2 separate regions of the Homo sapiens genome follow, and region 2 is linked to region 1. Evidence: promoter capture Hi-C in 16 types of primary human blood cells and fetal thymus (Javierre and others, 2016). All regions are on one chromosome and are shown on one strand. Each heading gives the region's core, a stretch centred on a gene start or on the middle of the fragment in contact. The rest is flanking DNA. Distances are from core to core; before and after follow the strand shown.

Region 1 (7,851 bases), core at 398-2,897:
GCTGTTCCCAGTGTGCCTGTCTTCGCTTCTCCATGAAACTGTCTTTCATCCTTCAAACAAGAATAAATTATTCACTGGAAACTCAGCATCCAAAGAGGATCTATGTACTAGGCCCTAAATAAGATCCTGGAGATAAAAAGGCAATTAGGTCATAGCTGCTGAAGAAGACTGCAGTCCAAATGGAGAGGCAGGTGTGTTTATTTCACAAACATTAAATCACACTGTCTGGCACGCACTATACTTAGCGCTTTGCAAAAATTAAAGCATTTCTAATTACAATTCTGTGAGGCTACACATACATAGAAACTGAAGCACAGAGAGGTAAAGTAAAATGCCTACAGTCACACAGCAAGTTACTGGCAGGGCAAGGACTGGAATACAGACAGTCTGTGCTCTTAAACACTATGCTCTGGGCAATGCTACATAATCATCAAAAAGCAATCTCCCTGGACAATAATACAAATATGAAAAAAGAGCTAGGAGTGCACATAGGAGTGGGGGCCTAAGAGAACAAGAAACAGCTTCTTGGAAGAAGTGATGTATTGTCTTGAAAGATGAGGAATGGGTGGGGGGTTAAACCTGTAATCCCAGCACTTTGGGAGGCCAGGGCAGGCGGATCACTTGAGGTCAGGAGATTGAGACCATCCTGGCCAACATGGTGGAACCCTGTCTCTACTACAAATACAAAAATTAGCCAGGCATGGTGGCAGACGCCTGTAGTCCCAGCTACTCGGGAGGCTGAGGCAGGAGAATCACTTGAACCTGGAAGGTGGAGGCTGCAGTGAGCCGAGATCGCGCCACTGCATTCCAGCCTGGGCGACAGAGCAAGACTCCGTCTCAAAAAAAAAAAAAAAAAAAAAAAGATAAGGAATGCATTGTATATGTCTACTTCACAAATATTACAGGCTTCTAGAAGAGGGGCACAGTCCATCTTATAAGATATCTTACTGTAACCTAGAAGATATTGTACTGTATCACAACAATCTCCTAGTAGGAGACAGTGTACCGTATCCTAGGAGAGGGGCACAGTCCATCCTAGGAGGTATCTTACCGTATCCTAGGAGTCTCCTAGTGGGAGACAGACTACTGTACCCTAGGAGAGGGCCACTGTTTAATTTATTTGCATTTCCTGCCAGCACCTGGCGTACCAACAACGGGTATTCAGCAAAGATTTGCGGAATGCCAGGGTACGAATGAATGTCCAGCACTCTGGACAACTCGGAACAGGGGGTTTCCGTGAAGAGCAAGTCTCATCACCTGCCACCTCCAAGATCCCAAAGCCCCCGACCCACTCAAACCTGGCCAGTAATGATCCTGGCAAGCTATCCAGAGGGTAGCTCGAGGCAGAAGGAAAAACTCCCGTCTGACCTTTGTCATTGCACGTCCCCCGCCCGCCTCCCACCACACACGGGGCCGCCCTCCCCTTATTACCTCCCGGTAAGAGCAGGGAGGCCGGAGAAGCGGAGGCCTGGGTGACTGGGATGAAGGGCACATTGAAGCTGAACTCCGTGGCCGAGGAGGAGAAAAGTAAGTTAGTGCCCGATGAGGAAGTGGAGGCGCCGCCGCTGCCACCGTTAGGTTTTCTCTCGGCCATGGCTGCGGCCCACCGTCCGATACACGTCTCCGGGTACCCGGTACCACACCACTGACCGGAAACCGATCACGCTCCTGGCCAGCGCACTTCCGCACTTGCGCACAGGAGCCGAAATTACGGGTAGCTAGTCAGCCGCCCTCTCCCTTCCCCTACACGGCGACGCCAGATATCAACATGGCGACACTGTCTTCACGCCCGCGTCTAGCACGTGACACCCTCGGAGGCGGAGGCCGGGCGGGAGGATGGGGACGTGGTCCCCGCAGGTTCTGGATAGACGTGCGAATTGAGACGCAATTGACCCTGAAAGTCACAGGTTGTGGCGGGTATCTATGGGCTTCCTAAAGGTACCGTCAGGATGGCTCTCCTGACAAAGATTTTGGAGGAACAGCGGAATCCTGCTGGACGCTACCGGAAGGAGGAAGGGAGGAAGAGCGTTGTGCGGGAATGGGAATTCGCATGCTAGGCGGAACCAAACACCCTCTCCAAAACCCACTTGTCTTTCTGGATGGAACCGAACATTGTGGTTGACCCAGAAATAGAAGTGGTAAAACATTTTTTAAGTGTTTAATCCATAGGGAGAAAAAAATATTTCGTTTTATTTTTGTTGTTTTTTGTTTTGCATTTGTTTTTTGTTTTTTTGGTTGGTTTTGTTTTTTGTTTTGAGACAAGTCTGCTGTGTCGCCCAGGCTGGAGTGCAGCGGTGCAGTCTGGGCTCATTGCAATCTCCGCCTCCCGGGTTCAAGCGATTCTCCTGCCTCAGCCTCCGAGTAGCTGGGACTACAGGCGTCCGCCACCACGCCTGGCTAATTTTTTGTATTTTTAGTAAAGACGAGGTTTCACCGGGTTGGCCAGGATGGTCTCAATCTCCTGACCTCGTGATCTGCCCGCCTTGGCCTCCCAAACTGCTGGGATTATAGGCATGAACCACCACGCCTGGCCAAAAAAAATATTTAAAAGAGAAATCAAACCAGACGCCATGGCGCAGGCCTGCAATCCCAGCACTTTGTGAGGCAGAGCGGGAGGATAGCTTGAGCCCAGAAGGTTGAGACCAACCTGGCCAACATGGTGAAACCCCGTCTCTACTAAAAATACAAAAATTAGCCGGGCTTGGTGGCATAGCACCTATATTGCCAGCTACTCAGGAGGCTGAGGCGGGAATATTGCTTGAGGCCAAATTAACCCTGATCTTGCCACTCACTGTGCAGCGAGACCCTGTCTCCTTAAAAAAAAAAAAAAGAAAAAAAAAGAAACCAGGGCATTGAAATTAGAGATCTGACATTTTAGATAGCTTTCTATATCCACAGTAAGCTGACTTACTTCAATCCAGGAGGTACTGTGGATAACTTGGACATAATTGTCATCTTTCATAGTTAGAGATTTTGAAGGAAAATATAACTTAAGCCATATTTCAGCTTCTTGGAGGTTGGGAGAGGAGATACCAAAAGAACGCTCAAAATAATGAAACTCTGCTCAGCTGTTTACACATATATAGAACCTAAGTTTATTAATTCAATAACGATTTCATGTGCTTACTGTCAAGAAAAATTTTTTAAGTGGGACACTCGTTAAAGCAGTAAATTAGATTTTATTTAATGAAAACTATTGCTAGGGAATTGGGTCCAGCATGAACTGAACACAACTTTGCTGAAACAAAAATTTGGAGGCTTTTTAGAGGCTGTGGTGTGCTAAGGGAAAGGTGCTGAGGAGTGTGAAGGGTTGGTTCGTCCTGCAACTAGGCCATCTGGGTGTGTTAATCCATGCTTATCCAGAGGAGACATAATTTTTCTGTCTTCATGACAAGCAGTGGTGTAAGAGAGCAAGGTAGCCACAGGGACTGGGAATGAGAATGAGAACCACCTCCTTGAAGGCTTGCAATTCAAGAGACAAACCCCCAGGTCCTTGAGAAGACAGTTCTCAGTGGTCATGTGTCCGGAGTTGGTTCCTTCCGGTGGGTTCTTGGCCTCACTGACTTCAAGAATGAAGCCGCGGACCTTTGTGGTGAGTGTTACAGCTCTTCAAGGTGGCACAGACCCAGAGTGAGCAGCAGCAAGATTTATTGTGAAGAGCGAAAGAACAAAGCTTCCGTAGCGTGGAAGGGGACCTGACTGGGTTGCTGCTGCTGGCTCGGGTGGCCAGCTTTTATTTATTTATTTGTCACTGCCCTCATCCTGCTGCTTGGTCCATTTTACAGAGCGCTGATTGGTCCATTGTAAAGAATGCTGATTGGTGCATTTACAATCCTTTAGCTAGACACAGAGTGTTGATTGGTGCATTTTTACAGAGTGCTGATTGGTGCATTTACAATCTTCTAGCTAGACACAGAGCACTGATTGGTGTGTTTTTACAGAGTGCTGATTGGTGCATTTACAGTCCTTCAGCTAGACACAGAGCACTGATTGGTGCATTTACAATCCTCTAGCTAGACAGAAAAGTTCTCCAAGTCCCTACTCAACCCAGGAAGTCTAGCTGGCTTCACCTCTCAATCCCCCCTCTAAAGAGGACACCCCAAGAGCTGTTGGGAATTGGGCAATGACCTCTGTAGCTACTTCCTGCTGGATGGGTTGAAGAAGGAGCCCTGCAGTTGTAGTGTCCTCCAGAGGGGAACTCTTTATGCCAGTCAAAGGGCCAGCGGGTTGGTGCAGGGGTCCTCAGTAGAAGTTGTTAGTTGAGCTCATTGGGGTTCCATTTGTAAGACCATCTGTAGCTTGATGGCCTCAATCCTAGAGGAAACAAATTTGACAAGGAGGTTAAAAATACAGGGCCCGAAGGTGAATAATAGCAAGATGGCCATCACAGGACCTAGAAAGGGGAAATGCCATATCGCCCAACTCCAGAGGTTGATATAAGAGTTTGAAAGGCGTTGTCTGATTTCAGAAGCCTTTTCCTGTAAACACCAGGCGGCACCTCATCCTATCCCTGACTGGTTAGTGTAAAAGCAACACTCTTCCCCTAAGAAGGTGCAAAGTCCTCCTTTCTCAGCAGTGAGGAGGTCTAGGCCTCGGTGGTTTTGGAGGGTCACTGCTGCCAAAGAGTCTATTTGGAATTGTAGAATAAGGATAGATTTTGTTATTTCTTGCAAACTGTCTGAGAAATCCTTTGAGAGTGTGTGGTAGTAGGATAATATATGTTACACTGTTAACTTTTAGCAAACTTTACTTTTGTTGAAAACCTTGTAAGTTTGGGATTTCAATTATTCTTTGTATTAATAAGACCTTGTTCAATCCATATTAACTTACAATTGGTATAGATGGCTTCTTCCTGATTCTGTGAGTACTTTAAGGTTTGGCTGAGTACTGATAGCTGGAGCACGTTTGAACAGACCAATTATTAGGCAATTTTCCTAACTCTGCTTCTACAAGAGTTTCCTTATCACTTACTGAATACTCATTGTGTCTTTCTCCCTTAATCGCTGGGGAGGAACCAGCTATAGTCCTGTCCTGAAGGGAGTTCCTCCTAGATCTGGTTGGACCTTTGTATGGTAATTAAGATTTAGATCCCCTGTTAGGAAACCTGCTGGGTTAAGGATTTTTGATAGGAAGGCTATGGGTTGTCAGTGGCCTCAGTGCTTTCGGGCTATGCCCTTGTTTACACTGACAACCAGGTGGTGTTGGAGTGTTACAGGGTCATGGAGAAGACCTTCAATTATCAATTATAGGTTTTAAATTTACTCTGGCTTTTAAAGGAATAGGGTACACTGTTTTTTCTTTACTACTTCTCTCCCTTTCTCTCTTTCTTTCTCTTTGACTTTCTGTCTCTTTCTCTCTTTGACTCCTTTTTTGTCTCTGTCTCTTTCTCTCTCTCTCTTCGACTTTCTGTCTTTCTCTCTTTCTTTCCTTCTCTCTGCTGGTCTTTCCCTGCTTCTGCCAGCCGCATATGCTGCTATGCTGCTGTTCTCCCCTCTCCTTCCCCTTTTTGATGGCTTCAGCAGTGTAAGACTGCCACCTCCTTGGGTTTTTGCACTGCATGCAACAACTCCATGATTTCCTTGTGGTATTTAGTGGGGGTTCCCCCGGAGGTTAGGAACTCCCTTTCTTTCCATATTGCAGCATGGGCATGTAGGATTAGATAAGCATAATTGCTATCTGTATACACATTTATTCTTTTTCCCTTTCTAAGGCTCAGGTAAGTGCCAGTAGTTCTGCTAACTTGGTGCTGGTCCCTGGGGGAAGAGGCTTACTTTCAAGTATTGTTACATCACTAACTATGGCATAACCTGCTCTTCGTATCCCATTCTCCACAAATGAACTTCCATCAGTATATAGGTTAAGGTCAGGATTAGCTAAGGGGACTTCTAAGCGATCCTCTTGGGTAGCATAACTCTGGACTATAATTTGTTGGCAGTCATGCTTGATTGGTTCTCCATCCTCTGGGAGAAAAGTGGCGGGATTGAGGGCCACACATATGCGTATTTGAAGCACCGGTCCCTCAAGAAGTAGTGCCTGGTATCTGAGCAGGCAGTTGTCTAATAGCCATAAACTTCCTTTGGCACCTAGTATGCCATTTACATCATGAGTAGTCCAGACAATGAGATCCTTTCCTTGTATTATTTTGATAGCCTCTGACACTGAGATGGCCACCATCACAACTACCCATAAACAGTGAGGCCAGCCTTTTGCTACTATATCAATTTCCTTACTTAGGTATGCCACTGGTTGTGGGGTTGTCCCTCAAGTCTTGAGTAAGGACTCCAAGAGCTATTCCTGCTCTCTCTGTGACATATAAAGAGAGGTTTTTGTCCTGTGGGAAGGCTTAAGGCTGGAGCTTGTACTAGGGCCTGCTTTAAAGTTTTGAAGGCTGTTTCTGCCTCTGGTTCCCATTCTACTAGATGAGTATTTGCCCTCTGGGTCTCCTTGATTAGAGTATAGAGGGGTCTGGCCATCTCACTGTATCCAGGGATCCATAGTCAGCAAAGCCAGTGATTCGAAGGAACCCCCACAACTGTTTAAATGTCTTAGGGTAAGGATAAGCCAGTATAGGCTGTATTCGTTCCTTGCTGAGGGCCCTGGTTCCTCTGGCTAAAATTAGGCCTAGATATTTGTCTCGTTATAGGCAGAACTAGGCCTTCGATTTAGACGCCTTGTACCCTTGATTAGCTAGAAAGTTTAAGAGATCTAGGGTAGCCTGCTGGCATGAGGCTTCCAAACTGGTAGCCAAAAGTAAATCATCCACATACTGAAGGACTAGAATGCCTAGACTTGAGAAGTGGCCTAGATCTTGGGCAAGTGCCTGACCAAACAGATGAGGGCTATCCCTAAACCCTTGGGGCAAGACCATCCACGTAAGTTGGGACGTGTGGTCTGTGGGATCCTCGAAGGCAAAGAGAAACTGGGAGTCAGAGTGCAGGGGAATACAGAAGAAGGTATCCTTGAGGTCAGGAACAGTGAACCATTCTGCTTCCTCTGGTATTTGAAAGAGCAGGGTATAGGGGTTGGTTACAACTAGATATAGAGGAATTACTGCCTCACTGATGAGTCTAAGATCTAAGCACTAGTCTCCACTGACCATTCGGTTTTTGTACTCCTAGAATTGGGGTGTTGCAGGGACTACTGCATTTTCTTGGTAAACCTTGAGCTTTTAGATGTCTAACAATATCCTGTAATCCTTTATGAGCTTTAGGCCTTAAGGGATATTGTCTTTGATAAGGAAAAGTGGTGGGGTCTTTTAGCCTGATTTGGAGTGGGTGGGCATTTTTTGCCCTTCCAAATTGTCTTTCCAATGCCCATATTTCAGGGTTGACTCCCTCCTCAAACAGGGGGCAACAAATGGGTAAATTGTTCCCCATATTCATGTAGATAATAGCTCCAGCTTTGGCCAATATGTCCCTCCCTAATAAGGGTGTGGGACTTTCAGGCATAACAAGAAAGGCATGTTTAGAGCAAAGTCTCCCAGTTACAACTGAGGAGGTGGGAGAAATACCTGGTTACAGGCTGTCCCAGGACTCCTCAGATGGTAACAGACCTTGAGCACACTGTCCAGTACAGGAGATTAACACTGAGAAAGCCACACCAGTGTCCAGGAGGAAGTCAATTTCCCAGCCCTCAATAGTTAAACATACCTAGGGCTCAGTGAGGGTGATGATATGAGCTGGCGCTTGCCCCGGACACCCTCAGTTCTGTTGTTGGATCATCTGTTTGGGGGCTTCTGGCCCAGAGAACCTTTGTCCTCTGGTGCAGTCGCCTTCCAGTGATTGCCTCGGCATAGTGGACATGGGCGAGGGGGCAGCTTGTTTCTTGTTGGACAGTCTTTTCTAAGGTGTC
Region 2 (6,478 bases), core at 1,945-4,444, 300 kb after region 1:
TGTGTTTTGTGTTGTCTTCCATTTCTGCCTTCTCTCCCTAGAAGAAAGAATTGGGACACACTTGAAATTTGTCCTTCAGGCCGGGCGCAGTGGCTCACGCCTGTAATCCCAGCACTTTGGGAGGCCGAGGTGGGCGGATCACGAGGTCAAGAGATCGAGACCTTCCTGGCCAACACGGTGAAACTCCGTCTCTACAAAAAACACAAAAATTAGCTGGGCGTGGTGGCGCGCGCCTGTAGTCCCTGCTACTTGGGAGGCTGAGGCAGGAGAATCACTTGAACCCAGGAGGCAGAGGTTGCAGTGAGCCGAGATTGCACCACTGCACTCCAGACTGGTGACAGAGCGAGAGTTCGTCTAAACAATTAAAAAAAAAATTTTATCCTTCAACATCTGTTGAAGCCAAGACTTGGTGTTGAGTTACAATGTGTACTTTGATATAAGCATCTGGGAAAGCTAGGCTTAAAGACTAGCTAACATGTATTTAACAAAGATAAAAGTTACATTGTATCTAAAAATCTGAAGTATCATCACACACTGAATGATTGATAAATACTCATGGCAGGGGTCTCATTTACTGTATCTGTTCCTTACCAAGAGGAATCTCTGGTTTTGTAGTGCTAAAGAATGTGCTTTTTTGATGTCTTTTATTTATCTTTGCATCTGCCTTGCCTTCATCCCTATCAGAGTTTCTCCAGGGGAATAATAAGCTAACTTCTTTGTCACTTATTTCCTTCCTCTACCTTCTCTAATCTCTTGTTCTTTCTTTGAAACAGTTAAGTTGTCTATGTTTACAGTTCTCTAAAACTGTGACATGTTCATATGAATAAATAAACATCTTAACTCTGTTGTTTTGTATGTCAGTACGTGTTTACTATTCTGTCTTCCTTTTTCCTTCTCCCACCCTTTTCCATAGGGCCTTTTTTTTTTTTTAAGAGAAGGACTACTACATCTTCCTAGGTCTTACCCCCACAGCACTTAGTTCACTGCCTGGAACATAAGAGGTACTCAGAATTTCTACAGTGATTATACTTCTTTCATTAAATTAGTATTAAGTTCTTTTTTAAAAGTCCTGGTTGAACTAAGATTGTAGGCAGACATTACTGTCACATGTGGTGCAGTCTGTTGACTTTTATATATTTTTTAAAACCTTCAAATGTAAAATCTTGAGATAAAAGCAAATGTTTAACAATTGGGATTTTTATTAGAGTTTAATACAAATAATGCATAGTTTTTCTAAGTGTACGTTTTACATATTCTCAAAGGGTTCTATTAGATATAAGTAACATGATGAAAACTGAACATGATTTTAGACGTTGATATCTAGTAGGGTTTTTTGTTTATGGAGATCTTATATTTTACATTGTGAGCTATGGATTAGGTTTTTCAAGTGGCCAGTATGTTTTAAAAGAATGTGTTCTTAACAAAGCTTATCTTAAATTGTTTCCTTAAGATGCCTGTGTGTTACTAGTGAGGTTTTTTTCCTGCAGACACACACAAGCTAAGACATATGGTTCTATCTTCAGAAAACAATATGGTGTTTAGAGCCTAGGTAGGTCTTTAAATATTCATTACCTACAGTATTACTAATTTATTTGATGGTATTTAAAGTGGCAAGAATTGCTTTGATGTTGAGCCTAAATTTCTATTTGTCATATAGTTGCTTTAAAGGTCTGTTTTCTGATGTTCTTCATTCTCATTTGACATTTATTTTGGGGTATTATGCATTGAGTAACTTGTGATCTAAAAAAACAAACAAGATCATGCTGTGTAATACTGGTGTTGGAACTGGACTGTCTGACACCTGCCTTGTGGGACACACATTTCAGGCTTGGGTTGTGTGTATCTTTGTAGTGCAGTGATTTGATCCATGGTATATCTGAATCTACAATATGACACTAAATTGTAATAGTGTTTTATTGTAGCTTATTTTATTTTCTTCATCTATCGGATGCACCAAAATTGCTAGGAATTCGTGTAATACCATGTTACACAATCCCTTCCTTTAAGGCTATTCTTTCTTCCTGGAAATAAGCTAATGATTTAGAGTATAATCTGAACATCTAAGAACAAAGCAGAAGAAAATTCTATAAACTATTACAAAATTGACTGGCTATACCATGGATTTGGCTATACTGTGGCTATAATCAAGCCCCTCATTCAAATTCAACTTAATCATATTCTTTGTTTCTTTAAAGTAAGAGAGAGAGAGTGAGTGTGTGTGTGTGTGTGTGTGTGTGAGAATATCTCATATATATAGTTGGTCAATTTAGTTGTACCTCCTGCAGCTATCTTCCATCATGCCTCCTTCCTAAAATGAAATACTGTACCGACAAATTGAACAATTAATTAGAGATCTATTGAAGGATATTATTGCAAAATCTCTTCTTGTATAGGACTTGTCAAGAACAAAAGCAAAACTATTATGGAAATTTAGCTATAGTTTTTTGTGTGAAAGTGCTGATAATTTCAGCCTTGGTAGGGCTACTCTTTTCAGAGTGAGAGCACATTCAGTGTTGAAAAAGTGTCATTAGTCTTCTGAAAGGCATGATATTCTTAACTTAAAATTCTGCCCAGTCGGACACAGGAAGTAGTTTGGCAATGTGAATTTCTGCCTACTGTGAAACTGCTAAGTTTTTAGCCCCAAATTGGATTTTAACCCTGATATTAGAGATAAAGGTGTCATTTTCAGTTTTTAATGCTTCAGTTCCTACAGTTCCTGTTCTTAGAAGACAAAATAGACTCTAAGGTATGCCTCTTCTGAATTTTTTCGTTGAGTTAAAAATCATTTTGGAATTTCCTAAGTGTTTACTCTTTGAATTGACCTCTCAATACAAAAATTAGAGCCATTTATCTTTTTTCTGTTATTTTGTGTATGTTCTTTAGGTAGCAATTATATATTTAAAGACTTGGATCTTTAGCTTGACTATTTCATAACCAGAGCAGAAAGAAAGTGAAGTGTAGAAGCTATAATTTGGAACGAATAAAGATGTCATTTCAATGAACTACCAAGAGATGATCTTACTAGGTCAGGCATTGAACTTTGTCTTAAATATTTTTGTTAGTATTTACTTTGGGACAGATTATTTTATGATACTGTAAAAGTACTTAAAATAGAATAGTACAGTATTTTAAAAGCTATACAATACGTCTCTCAAGTGTTATGATGCACGAAGGCAAATGTAAATGAAGAGGCAATCTGAAATTTGGGTACAAGAACTCAGTAAAAGAAAAGGCAGTCTGAAATTTGGGTAAAGTTTAGGTGAAATTATATAGTGAATCATGGCCTTTTAATCCTGGTAAATTAAGATATTGTATGTGTTGTTATGGAAGGCCTTTCATGTTAGTTTTTGAAATTTAGTTTGCTGCTTAACATTTAACTTTTAGTGGAGATAATTTGAAAAATAGGAAACCTTAATACTGGATTTTTAAATAAATATTTCATGACATTCTAAACTTAGATATTAACGTTTTCATCTTTGCTTTCAGTGCTAGAAATGTAAATTAATATATCTAAATATGCCTCTAGAAATTCTTCAAGATCTGTAACTGGCGGGAAATAGGTTGACTTAGAATAAAGATTTTTTTTTTTTTTTCAGATGGAGTTTCGCTCTTGTTGCCCAGGCTGGAGTGCCATGGCGCGATCTCAGCCCACTGCAACCTCCACCTCCCGGGTTCAAGTGATTCTCCTGCCTCAGCCTCCCCCAAGTAGCTGGGATTACAGGTGCCCGCCACCATGCCTGGCTAATTTTTTGTGTTTTTAGTAGAGACGGGGTTTCACCATGTTGGCCAGGCTGGTCTTGAACTCCTGACCTCAAGTGATCCACCTGCCTCGGCTTCCCAGAGTGTTAGGATTACAGGTGTGAGCCACCACACCTGGTGGAATAAAGATCTTATTAAGCAGTGACGGCTTTTTTTGTGACTATTAGATATAGAAGGTAACTAATTCCAATACAGTTTTTCCTGAAGAAATTGATGTTTAAACAGTAATGGAAATTTAAAACTATTTAAATCATTTAAAATGTGTTATATTAAAATGATAATTCTATTTTAATTTTGTTATTAGCTAGCTTCAATATGTGAAAACCAGTTTTATCCATCCTTCTTTTCTCTTAGAAGTGAGCTAACTAGCCCTTTAGGCAAGGAGCATAATGTTTAGAAGCTCAAGATCACTTGTTCGTTTCTTTCTTTCTTTCTTTCTTTCTTTCTTTCTTTCTTTCTTTCTTTCTTTCTTTCTTTCTCTCTTTCTCTCTGTCTCTCTCTCTTTCTCTCTTTCTTTTTTATTTATTTTTTTGAGATGGAGTCTCACTCTGTCGCCCAGGTTGGAGTGCAATGGTGCAATCTCGGCTCACTGCAACCTCTGCCTCCCAGGTTCAAGCGATTCTCCTGCCTCGGCCTCCCGAGTAGCTGGGATTATAGGTGCGCGCCACCATGCCCGGCTAATTTTTGTATTTTTTGTGGAGACAGGGTTTCACCATGTTGGTCAGGCTGGTCTCAAACTCCTGACCTCATGATCCGCCTGCCATAGCCTCCCAAAGTGCTGGGATTACAGGCGTGAGCCACCATGCCTGGTCACTTGTTCATTTTTCTTACAGATAGGTCTACTCTGTACAAAAAGAAATCATTTCAGAGATACAGGCTCACAAACCCCTATGAGTTAAGAAGGGGCAAGCAGCCTATCGCTGGCTCATAACCCAATAACCTTTTAGTCCTGCTGGAAAAAGTATGTCACTACATTGGCCTGCTGATGGATCAGCTCCTTAATTACGTGGAAAAGGTGGCATAGTGGACGTAAAACAGTTTGTCACTTGTTTAGTCCTCTAGTTAGGTAATATTGGATGTGTGTTTCAATTTTAGAGCAGGTACACTAAGATTATTAGTACTCATTGCAATAAAATTCTTAACTGGAAAATCGCTACTAATTCTTAATTGGATCTTTTAAGTTTTTTACTTAACCTAAGCTTTCTCAGTCTATTTTTCCCTTTGAGTATTCCATCTTAAAGCATGTTGTGTATTTAATGTGGCAGCTATGTTGCAAGTCTTATTTTGGTCTTAATACTCAGTTTCCAGATGTAATATATTACAAGTAGAAAAAGAAATCTACTTTCCAGAATGAACTTTGTTAAATTTTACAGATATTGTTTGGTTTATGAGGTTGTTCATAACAGATGCAAATTTGAGGAATTATGTGTAGAATACCAGAAAGACTTTAGTGTTTGGCAATTTATTTAGATAAATTAAGATAAATCCATAGTACAAGACATAAACCAAGGTGGTCCTCTCTGTGTGATGAAGTAGCATTTTTTTCTTTTCTTTTTTAAACTTTCCTGTATTTAAAATCTTTTACACAAAACACATTCAATTGTAATTAGGAAAAAAAACCCAAATTTTTAAGTGTCCATAGTCAAAAGTATGCCTGGATTTGTCTTAGTTTTTCTCTGAATTTCTTAAGAAATCTTTGTATTAGCTTTTTTATCTACATTAAGATATATTTTGTTGGCTGGGCATGGTGGCTCACTCCTGTAATCCCAGCACTTTGGGAGACTCAGGCAGGTGGATCACTTGAGGTTAGGAGTTTGAGACCAGCCAGGCCAACATGGTGAAACCCCGTCTCTACTAAAAATACAAAAATTAGCCGGGCGTGGTGGTGCACGCCTGTAGTCCCAGCTACCTGGGAGGCTGAGGCAGGAGAATCGCTTGAACCTGGGAGGCGGAGGTTGCAGTGAGCTGAGATCATGCCACTGCACTCCAGCCTGGGTGACAGAGTGAGACTCCATCTCAAAAAAATACATATATATTTTGTTGATTCTGATGCATTTTAGACTAGGAAATTTTATATTTTACCCTGCTCTCCTAAAATGAAACAGTGAAGACATCATTGCAAACAACCTTACTCAGCCAAAAACAAAACAACAAAAACCCTCCACCCTCTGTATGTTTTACTATAACTTTAATTCTGTTCTTTGTTCATGTAATTGCTTTGGTTGGGAATCTAAGATAAACTCACTTTATGTTTAATATCCTATTACAATCAGATGTTTTAATGAATTAGTATTTGTTGTATGTGTGTGTGTGTTATAAATTATTTTTAATTAGAAATTGTAGTTATCTTGAGACCAGTTTAAAATTTTAACAATTAGAATAAGATGAGAAAATGATATCCAGGGTACAGAATAATAATGCCATTGGGGTATACAAGATCACATTGATTTGTTCTTTAAATGTCTTTCAGAGTGGTATTTTAGTGGCCTAAGAACAATTGTTGCTTTCCTAAATAAGGGTTAATCTTACTTTCATAGGATCAGGTTTAATTGGAGAAATTTTGTTGAAAACAGAGGAAGTTAAAATGAAATAAAAGGTGGCCGGGCGCAGTGGCTCACGCTTGTAATTCCAGCACTTTGGGAGGCCAAGGCGGACAGATCACCTGAGGTCAGGAGTTCAAGACCAGCCTGACCAATACGATGAAACCCTGTCTCTACTA

What was found. The method cuts DNA at HindIII sites, captures the fragments that hold promoters and counts their contacts. A CHiCAGO score of 5 or more calls a contact.
Region 2: a fragment that was not itself captured here is called in contact with the fragment with the promoter of SEC23IP in region 1 in 9 of 17 cell types (neutrophils, monocytes, naive CD4 T cells and 6 more); the score reaches 10.9 in neutrophils.

What each region holds. Positions count from the first base shown.
Region 1 is chr10:119,886,526-119,894,376 of GRCh38, reverse strand. SEC23IP (SEC23 interacting protein) reads right to left here and starts at 1,647. Exons shown (of 19, transcript NM_007190.4): 1 at 1,432-1,647. The coding sequence starts at 1,594. RefSeq lists enhancers at 1,399-1,909, 1,910-2,420, 2,421-2,932, 4,733-5,271. The HindIII fragment of the contact is 6,362 bases long and covers 1-3,675 here.
Region 2 is chr10:119,588,523-119,595,000 of GRCh38, reverse strand. The region is part of intron 1 of TIAL1 (TIA1 cytotoxic granule associated RNA binding protein like 1); the gene reads left to right. Among named protein-coding and RNA genes, the nearest start is that of TIAL1, 5.2 kb to the left of the region's middle. The HindIII fragment of the contact is 3,532 bases long and covers 1,429-4,960 here.